Regions from separate parts of the Homo sapiens genome. Here regions 1 and 2 are each linked to region 3. Evidence: promoter capture Hi-C in human tissues and cell types (Jung and others, 2019). All regions are on one chromosome and are shown on one strand. Each heading gives the region's core, a stretch centred on a gene start or on the middle of the fragment in contact. The rest is flanking DNA. Distances are from core to core; before and after follow the strand shown. Region 1 overlaps BCL2L13 (BCL2 like 13). Region 2 overlaps BCL2L13 (BCL2 like 13). Region 3 holds the start of TUBA8 (tubulin alpha 8).

Region 1 (3,104 bases), core at 232-2,731, 400 kb after region 3:
CTATTCATACTATACAAGTTTTGTAATCTGTTTTCATGCCATGTCAAAAGATGTGCCTTACAATTACACAGTTCTTCAAACAGAAGGGTCATCCAGTGATCAGAGAGGTCTCAAGTGACAACTGATAGGAATTCTCAACAGGTTACTTACCTGCACTTCTAAAAACAGAGCCTCTAATAGCAGTAACTGATTAAATAAGCAAAAACAAAAACAAGAGTCATAACGAAAACACTAAGAATTTTAGTTCTCAGTAAACAGACCTTTAGGGCTCTAAGCCAAGTAAGTAAAATGGAAATTTCAAAAGTACCATCATGGCTGGGTGTGGTGGCTCACGCCTGTAACCTTAGCACTCTGGGAGGCAGAGGCAGGCAATCACTTGAGCCCAGGATTTTGTGACCAGCCTGGGCAGCATGGCAAAATTGCACCTCTACAAAAACATACAAAAATTAGTTGAGTGTGGTGGTGCATGCCTGTGGTCCCAGCTACTCAAGAGGCTGAGGTGGGAGGATCGTTTGAGCCCAGGAGGTAAAGGATGCAGTGAGCCGAGATTGTGCCACTGCGCTCCAGCCTGGCCAACAGAGTGAAACCCTGTCTCAAAAAAAAAAAGGCCCATCATGAAGAAATAAGGGAAAAGTCAACAAACTGAAAATTAAAAGTAAAATGTCTCTTCCTCTTATGATTATTTTTTAATGAGGGTCTCACTCTGTCACCCAGGGGCTACAGTGCAGTGGCATAATCGTAACTCACTACAGCCTGAAAATCCTGGGCTCAATAGATCCTCCCACCTCAGCCTCTTGAGTTGCTGGGATTACAGGCATGAGCCACCGCACCACCACGCCTGGCTTTTCCCCTTATTTTTAACAGCTCAAAGTTAACAAAAGATTGAAGAACGTTCTTTGTTCCACATCTAGAGGATCTTTTCATCTCATCTAAGACATTAGATCAAGTTTGTCTGATCACAACTTTGGCGTAATATATTGTTTAAAAGCCAATTCAGATTTATTTATTTATTTTTTTTTATTTTTATTTTTTTTGAGACGGAGTCTCGCTCTGTCGCCCAGCCTAGAGTGCAGTGGCTCGATCTTGACTCACTGCAAGCTCCGCCTCTTGGATTCATACCATTCTCCTGCCTCAGCCTCCCGAGTAGCTGGAACTATGGGTGCCCACCACCACGCCCGGCTAATTTTTTTGTATTTTTAGTAGAGACGGGGTTTCACCGTGTTAGCCAGGATGGTCTCGATCTCCTGACCTCGTGATCTGCCCACCTCGGCCTCCCAAAGTGCTGGGATTACAGGCATTTATTTATTTTTTATTTTTATTTACTTTTTTTTGAGACAGAGTCTTGCTCTGTCACCCAGGCTGGAGTGCAGTGGCGTGATCTCAGCTCACCGCAACCTCCGCCTCCCAAGTTCAAGCGATTCCCCTGCCTCAGCCTCCGGAGCAGCTAAGATTACAGGTGTGCGCCACCATGCCCGGAGAATTTTTTTTTTTAATTTTTAGTAGAGACAGGGATTCACCATGTTGCTGGTCTCAAAGTCCTGACCTCAAATGATCTGCCTGCCTCGGCCTCCCGAAGTGCTGGGATTACAGGTGTGAGCCACTGCACCCGGCCAATTCAGATTAAATAGCTTTATGTCTTGCTGTCATGGCCTCCCTACCTTACAATGTATTTCTGTATTTAGGACGTGACATTTTAATGAAGATTCACTGAACATTCTGTGCTGTTATGTAAGAAGTCTTACAAGAAAGAACAGATTACTAAGCTTTTACTCCTGGGGACCAATTCACATAAAACAAAAATATAAAAATAGCAGCCTCTTTTTTTTTTTTTTTTTTTTTTTTTAAGACAAGGTCTTACTGTTACCCAGGCTGGAGGTCAGTGGCGCAATCTTGGCTTACTGCAGCCTTGACCTCCCAGGCTCAAGTGATCCTCCTGCCTCAGCCTCCTGAGTAAATGGGACCACAGATTACTTCCAGTTAATTTTTATATTTTTTGTAGAGATGGGCTCTCACTCACCATGTTGCCCAGGCTGGTCTTGAGCTCCTGGACTTGGGCAATCTGCCTGCCTCGGCCTCCCAAAGTGCTGGGATTACAGGAGTGAGCCACTGCACCCGGTCAATGTTTTCTTTTGTTTTAATAGCACTCTGTTGCCTAGGCTGGAGTGCAGCAGCACAATCTCAGCTCCTGGGTTCTGCAACCTGGGTTCAAGAGATTCTCCTGCCTCAGCCACCTGAGTAGTTGGGATTACAGGAACCCACCACCATGCCTGGCTAATCTTTCTATTTTTTATTTCATTTATTTATTTATCTTTCCTGAGACAGAGTCTCTCTCTGTTCACCCAGGTTGGAGCGCAGAGGCACAATCCTGGTTCACTGCAACCTCCGCCTCCTGGGTTCAAGCAATTCTCCTGCCTCAGCCTCCCGAGTTGCTGGGACTACAGGCATGCACGACCATGCCTGGCTAATTTTTGTATTTTTCATAGAGATGGGGTTTCACCACGTTGGCCAGGCTGGTCTCGAACTCCGGACTTCAGGTGATCTGCCCACCTTGGCCTCCCAAAGTGTTGGGATTACAGGCGTGAGCCACCACGTCCAGCCTCAGTTTTATATTTTTGAGACAGGGTTTTGCCATGTCACCGGGCTGGAGCCTCTTTTTTTTGTTTTGTTTTGTTTTTGAGATGGAGTCTCACTCTGTCGCCCAGGCTGGAGTGCAGTGGCGCAGTCTTGGCTCACTGCAACCTCTGCCTCCTGGGTTCACGCCATTCTCCTGCCTCAGCCTCCCGAGTAGCTGGGACTACAGGTGCCTGCCACCACGCCCAGCTAATTTTTTGTATTTTTTAGTAGAGACGGGGTTTCACCGTGTTAGTCAGGATGGTCTCGATCTCCTGACCTTGTGAGTCACCCACCTCGGCCTCCCAAAGTGCTGGTATTACAGGCGTTAGCCACCATGCTCGGCCGAGCCTCTCTTAATAATTAATGTCATAATGAAGAGCAGGCTTTCACTAAAAGAAAAAGAGCTGTTTTGGATAATATATTACTTACAACTTATCATATTAGAAGAATAATATCTACAAGTAGCCTCGGAACCATTCTAACAATCTAAA
Region 2 (3,189 bases), core at 120-2,619, 470 kb after region 3:
AAAAAATCAGCCGGGCGTGGTGGCGGGCGCCTGTAGTCCCAGCTACTCAGGAGGCTGAGGCAAGAGAATGGCGTCAACCCGGGAGGCGGAGCTTGCAGTGAGTCGAGATGGCACCACTGCACTCCAGCCTGGGCGACAGAGTGAGACTCATTCTCAAAAAAAAAAAAAAAAAAACACATATTATGTGATCCCATTTTTGTGAAATCTCCAGAATAGGCAAATCCATAGACAGAAAGTAGATCAGTGGTTGCCCAAGGGTGGGGGTAGGAGGACCAGTAATAAAGAATGACTGCTAATGGGTATGGGAGTCTCTTTTTGAGGTGATGAAAATGATTGTGGTGGTGGGTGCACAACTCTGTGAATATACTAAAAAGTACTGAATTGTACAATGGTGAGTTGTATGGTACGTTAATTATATGTCAATAAAGTTGTTAAAAAAAATCAGCTACTCCAATCCTTTTGCGGTTCATAAAGAACCAAGATGACTGGGTTTCATGCTAATGCATGACATGTGCCTCCCTCAAATCATGTTGCCTCATGGGCTTATTGGCACATTACCGTCTGAGGAAGAACAAGAAAAAAAAATAAACCAATCTGAAAATACCACCCACCCCCACTTTGTATATATATTAAACAAGAACTCTTGGTGAACATTTATTTGGAATAAGATACAAATCAAAATCCTGTCTAAAAAATGATAAATGCAGACTGGAACTAAGTGAATGTTTAACACTTGTGTTTTGTATGCCTGAAGTATTTCACAATAAAATACATATCTATTTAGGCCGGGCGCAGTGGCTCATGCCTGTAATCCCAGCACTTTGGGAGGCCGAGGCGGGCAGATCGCGAGGTCAGGAGATCGAGACCATCCTGGCTAACACGGTGAAACCCCGTCTCTACTAAAAATACAAAAAATTAGCCTGTCGCGGTGGCGGGCACCTGTAGTCCCAGCTACTCGGGAGGCTGAGGCAGGAGAATGGTGTGAACTCAGGAGGCAGAGCTTGCAGTGAGCCGAGATCGTGTCATTGCACTCCAGCCTGGGCGACAGAGCGACACTCCGCCTCAAAAAAAAAATATATATATATATATAAAAAATTAATAAACAAACATATATATATTTTTTGAGTCAGGGTCTCTGTCATCCAGACTGAAGTACAGTGGAGCAATCACAGCTCACAGCAGCCTTGATCTCCCGGGCTCAAGCAGTCCTCCCTCTCGCCTCAGTCTTCCAAGTAGCTGGGACCTATGCCTGGCTAATTTTTTTTTTTTTTAATTTTTTGTGAAGACAAGGTCTCCTTATGTTGCCCAGGCTGGTCTCGAACTCCCGGGCTCAAGCAATGCTCCTGCCTGAGCCTCCCAAAGTGCTGGGATTACAGTGAGCCATCGCAAACAGCCAAATGAAATGTTGTTAATGATTATTACTGTTGCAAACCACTTGTCCTAAAAGCTTAATGTGTGTGATATTTAATACATGTTGATTAGATTATGTGCTAGTAAACACAAGTCTGTTTTTTTACAAGACTGGTTAGATATAGCCTTAGGCATCTTTCAATTGAATTCAACTACTGGTCCTTGCTGTAGGAGACAACTAAAAATAAAATAAAAAGTGAATCCAACTACTGAATATACTCTTCCACATAAAAAATGAGCCATTGGAAAAAAAATACAGAACAGTACCTGACCATTCCTAGTAAAAAGATTTTCAATACCCTTAACTGCCTATTACCAAATGAAGAATACTTCACTTGGGGGAGAGAGGGTGTTAAAAATGAAAATAATACTTCATGCGGTGGCGCGGGGGTGGTTGAAAAAAAGGTATCACCGTGCGCGGTGGCTCACGCCTGTAATCCCAACACTTTGGGAGGCTGAGGCGGGGGGATGACCAGAGATTGGGAGTTCGAGACCATCCTGACCAACATGATGAAACCCCGTCTCTACTAAAAATACAAAATTAGCCCCGCGTGGTGGCGCATGCCTGTAATCCCAGCTACTCGGGAGGCTGAGGCAGGAGAATGGCTTGAACCCAGGAGGCGGAGGTTGCGGTAAGCTGAGATCGCGCCATTGCACTCCAGCCTAGGCAACAAGAGGGAAACTCTGTCTCAAAAAAAAAAAAAAAGAAAGAAGGTATCTGAAGGGTGTGGCAACTCATCCAAGGTCACACTAGTCAGGGCAGAGAGCAACATTCTGCTTTATACTAAACCTCCAGAGGAAATCTTATAATTTCGCCAAAGAAGTTTTTGTTTTGTTTTACGCAACAACAACAAAAAAATAAAAGTAAGGAGGGAGGGCTCTCAGCTTAGTTCAAACTTCTAAACAGAGACAGTGAGATAGCTATTTTGAATAAACAAACACTTGTGCAGGGAGTGGCTAAGAGCTAACCAAAGCCAGCAGTCAACAGCATGTGAACAACTGGCCAGATCCGTCCGATTTTCAACGCTAGGTTAGAGCCTCCACTCAGAAAGTCGGTTATGAAGGCAAGAAATAGGATCTTTACAGAATGTTGGGAGGATAAATCAAAGGGGGAAAATGACTCCGTGTGAACTGTACTGCCTCCAAGGGCAAGAAGGCAGTTTTTTTCTGAAAAAATAGGTGTCAGAACAGCAGTGAATTAAGGTTAAGAAACAAGACTTCTAACAATCTCTGAGAAGAAACGACTAAGACTGGCAAAGCTAATCTTCCAGTGTTCTAAGTGAATCGCAGGAAAACCTTTCCCTCAACCAAAAAGAAGTCGCCGTTCCCCAGTTTAGCCCTAAAAATGGACCCGGGTTTTCCACGTGAAGCTGTCTGTGGGGAAGGACAGCGGCGTGGAGCCAGGGCCGAGCTCCTCCGCCTCCGGCACCCCACGCCGGAAGAAGCCTGCTCAGCGGCGGGGCCGCGCGGCCAGGTCCGGTCACGGTGAAGCGGACCCCTAAGCTCCGAGCACCTTCGGGCGAAGGAGCGCCGGTGTAGACACACACACTCAAACTCACGCGTCGTCGGAACCACTGGGGAGTCGGTGGCTCGATACGGTCTCTGGGCACTTTCCTACCCAGGTGAAAACCACCTCCTCACCCAGCTCAGCCTTCCCGGAACCCCACTCCCCTCACCTGGCCCTGGCCCCTGCCCCAGAAGAGATGAAAGAGGCGGCGGCGGCAGTTGCTTCCGACAGGGTCCCCCAGCGGCGGTGAGTGCTCCGACCCGCGGCCCTAA
Region 3 (3,310 bases), core at 242-2,741:
ATCGCTAATTATACCATTTGCTCTCCGTTTGCATATGTTTGAAATTCCCTACCATAAAAAGTTTAAAAATAATGAAATCTAAGTGGAGTCTTGGAAATTTGAATTATAACCCTCTTCATTTCGCAGGTAAAACAAACACATCCAGAGAGGTTAAGTGACCTTCCTGAAGTCACACAGCTAGCTGCAGAGCCAGGAGTCAAAATTCTGAACTGGCAGCTCCGGGCCCTTTGTGTGGCCTCATACCAGGGTCCTCAGGCAGAAATAGGTTCCTGTGGCCACCCTCCCTAATATTCCCAAGTTCTTTCAGTTCCCAGGGGTGTCTGGGAGCCCGCTAGGAGGAGGGAGGGTGCTGACAAAACTGAAGCTGGAAGGCTAGAGCTCCGGGGGAGCCAGGAGGCCCTGGGCACGGGCCAAACGTAACAGGGCGGGGCGGAGGGGGTTCTCGCCTGCTTTCTGGATCACTGACACCTGGAGCAAGCCTGCCCAGGGAACCCGACCTTGGCCATGACATAGGCTTATTCTGCCCTCACTCTGCCCCCAATCTTTCCAGCCCATCTCCCTACTGCTGAAAGATCAGGGGTCCAGGAGGGATTCCTGGGATTCTGGGCTTTGGGAAAGTGGACTGGGGGCAAATGTTAACCACCAGGGGCACTGGGGGCGGAGAGGGGGACCCTAGAAAGAGGAACTGAGTGTTTGCAGCCGCCCCTCAGTAAGATCCAGGGGCGGGGGCAGGGAAGGGAGCAGCCGCGATCCCCCTAAGCCAGGGTAGGAAACAGGTCGAAGGTCCCCTGGCCTTTGGAAGCAGAGACTTCTTACTCCCAAAGTCCTTCGACTCTGACCGCTGGAAAGACTTGGGAGCTGCTGAGTGCGCCCGGAGGACCCCGCCGCGCTGGGGCTGTGCGTGCAGCAAACCCAAGCCGCTGGCCAGGCTTGCGAGAAAGACCTCCACGCGTGGGGGGACCGTGGCGCCCTAGGTCCTCTGTCACATTCCGGGCCCTGTCACATTAGGCTGGGTTCGGAGACGTGACTGCATCTGGCCCCCCAGTCGCCCCGGCCCAGACCACCCATCCAGAATCCCCGGACTCGCCCTTCTCTCCACTCTGTCCACAGGCTGCCCATCTGGGGACCCCAGAATCTCGCCCCCTTCTCCGTCGGGCTCCCCAGGGCCTCCCTCCCCCTCGTCTGCACGCAAAGCTCCCTTAGGTCCCTTTAAGGAACAACTGGCCCCTGGTCTCTATTTCCCCCATACGATAAAGGGCACCGGGTGTTCCCGCCCGAGGGTGCGGACTCCTCGACCCTGAACTGCCACCCCCAGAAGGCCTTGAGCCCTGCGGCTCCAGGAAGACGGGTCCGTGCGCCTCCGCGTAGACTCGGCTCTCGGTCCTACGCCTGCCGCGCGCCCGCAGCCCGCCTGGCCCCGGGAAGCCTCACCATCGCTGCCGCTGTCCTCGCCCGCGCACCTCTCAGCTGGGCCTGCCCGCCCCGACTGCTCCAGATACAGCCGCCTCCGCCGTTGTGACACACCGGGAGGGGGGGACGCCGGGGACAGGCGCGCCGGGCCCGCAGCTGCCCCCCGGCATCACAGTGCCGGGGAGGGGCGGGCAGGTCACAAAGGCCCCTCCCCGCCCACCCGCGGCTCAAATCTCCGGGTCCTCGGTCCCGCCTCAGCAGCCGGGGGCGCTCGCAGCGGGGACTGCGCCCGCGGGGGAGGCTGCCCTATTACCAAAGCGCACGTGTCCACGTTCCAACACCGCCGGCGAGAGCAGCCTTCGTGACCCCAGCTGCCGGAGAAAGAAATGTAAAATGCAGCCAGGCGAATCGCGCGGGTCTCCCCAAACTTCCGTTCTCCTCCGACCCGCTGGAAAGGCTCCTGACTGGGGTGCAGCTGACCGGAGCGGGCTGCAGCGGGCCCGGGTGCCAAGGTGCCGTCTCAGCTGGGCGCCCTAGGGCCGTGTGTGCTTGGCAAGCTGCAGGGCCTCTGCTCCCAAAGCCTGTGCCTCCTGCCGCCAAGGCCCGCCTGGTTGCTGGAGACGGAAATGAGATGGCATACACAGAGCTCCTGGTACAGGCAGGTGCTGAAGACTGTTCCCGTTTTTACCCTCTCCCCGGATACCTCGCACCTCCACCGGGATTTTCAAATCTCCCCCCTTGATCCCTTCCTACTTTTAAGCCCCAAACGTGTCCAAGTCACATCTCCTATGTAATCCAGAACTCATACCAGGGTTCCCCTGCCTCTGCCCAGTAGTAAGACCCGCCAGATGCTGTTGGTTGCCCCCTGCTCGGGAAGGGGTGGGCACTTGGTAAAAGCCCCTCTTCACACTTTAGATGTTGGCCACGTTGTCACCCTGCCCATCTCCCCTCACTTCCCCCCAGGTGGGTGAGGGGCTGGATGGTCTTTGTTCCTTGTTCTCACTGCTGTTTCTTGTTCTTTCCCTCCAGTGGTCAGTTCCATTCATGTTGAAAGGTGTACCCCAGCCTCTCTCTTCCACTTTCCTCAGCACCAAGCCAACGCAGGCAAATTCATAGGTTTTCCTTAAGACAATACCACTTTAGCCAGACGTGGTAACTCCCCAAGTTTCCAAGCACAGTTAGAGATCTTCCTACCCTTCTGCTCCTAAGACATGCCTGCTTGTGGCCAATAGAGAATGAGAGCAGATTTCTGCTTACCTATGCGGCAATCTGTTCTGTTGGCCACCCATTCATAAACGATAGTACATGTGTCGTAATCATCTTTGCATTTGAGAGAGTACCAAACACAGTGCTTTACCCACTGATACAAACGGTACTTAGTAAAGCATGCGTTGAATTTTTGTCTATCTTATAATGTAAGATCCTGACAATTAAGACTCAGGATTAAGCTAATTGTGCCAAGCACATGATAAATGGTCAATAAAGGATTTTGGTTATTAGTATAACTCTATGTGTATTTCTCTTCCAAACTCTCCCATAGCATATTCTATTACTTCTTCCATAGCATTTCTTTTATTTTTTATTTTTTTTGATGGAGTCTTGCTCTGTCGCCCAGGCTGGAGTGCGGTGGTGTGATCTAGGCTCACTGCAACCTCCGCCTCCCGGGTTCAAGTGATTCTCCTGCCTCAGCCTCCCGAGTAGCTGGGACTACAGGCGCGTGCCACCACGCTCGGCTAATTTTTTGTATTTTTAGTAGAGACGGGGTTTCACCGTGTTACCCAGGATGGTCTCAATCTCCTGACCTTGTGATCCACCCATCTTGGCCTCCCAAAGTGCTGGGATTACAGGCGTGAGCCATCGCGCCCAGCCCCATAGTATTTATCACTTTCTTTTTCTTTTT

What was found. The method cuts DNA at HindIII sites, captures the fragments that hold promoters and counts their contacts. A contact is called where the count stands out against the background at its distance.
Region 1: a contact is called between a fragment that was not itself captured here and the fragment with the promoter of TUBA8 in region 3, in 1 of the 25 tissues and cell types used here (dorsolateral prefrontal cortex).
Region 2: a fragment that was not itself captured here is called in contact with the fragment with the promoter of TUBA8 in region 3 in 1 of the 25 tissues and cell types used here (dorsolateral prefrontal cortex).

What each region holds. Positions count from the first base shown.
Region 1 is chr22:17,708,807-17,711,910 of GRCh38, reverse strand. All of the region lies in intron 6 of BCL2L13 (BCL2 like 13), which reads right to left. Among named protein-coding and RNA genes, the nearest start is that of MIR3198-1, 54 kb to the left of the region's middle. The HindIII fragment of the contact is 6,813 bases long and covers 1-3,104 here.
Region 2 is chr22:17,638,784-17,641,972 of GRCh38, reverse strand. It overlaps BCL2L13 (BCL2 like 13), which reads right to left. Exons shown (of 7, transcript NM_015367.4): 1 at 3,087-3,189. It also overlaps the pseudogene LOC124905160. Among named protein-coding and RNA genes, the nearest start is that of BCL2L13, 1.6 kb to the right of the region's middle. RefSeq lists enhancers at 2,334-3,189, 2,975-3,189. The HindIII fragment of the contact is 6,703 bases long and covers 1-3,189 here.
Region 3 is chr22:18,108,990-18,112,299 of GRCh38, reverse strand. It overlaps TUBA8 (tubulin alpha 8), which reads right to left and starts at 1,491. Exons shown (of 5, transcript NM_018943.3): 1 at 1,432-1,491. The coding sequence starts at 1,434. RefSeq lists a silencer at 1,325-1,714 and an enhancer at 1,795-1,994. The HindIII fragment of the contact is 17,974 bases long and covers 1-3,310 here.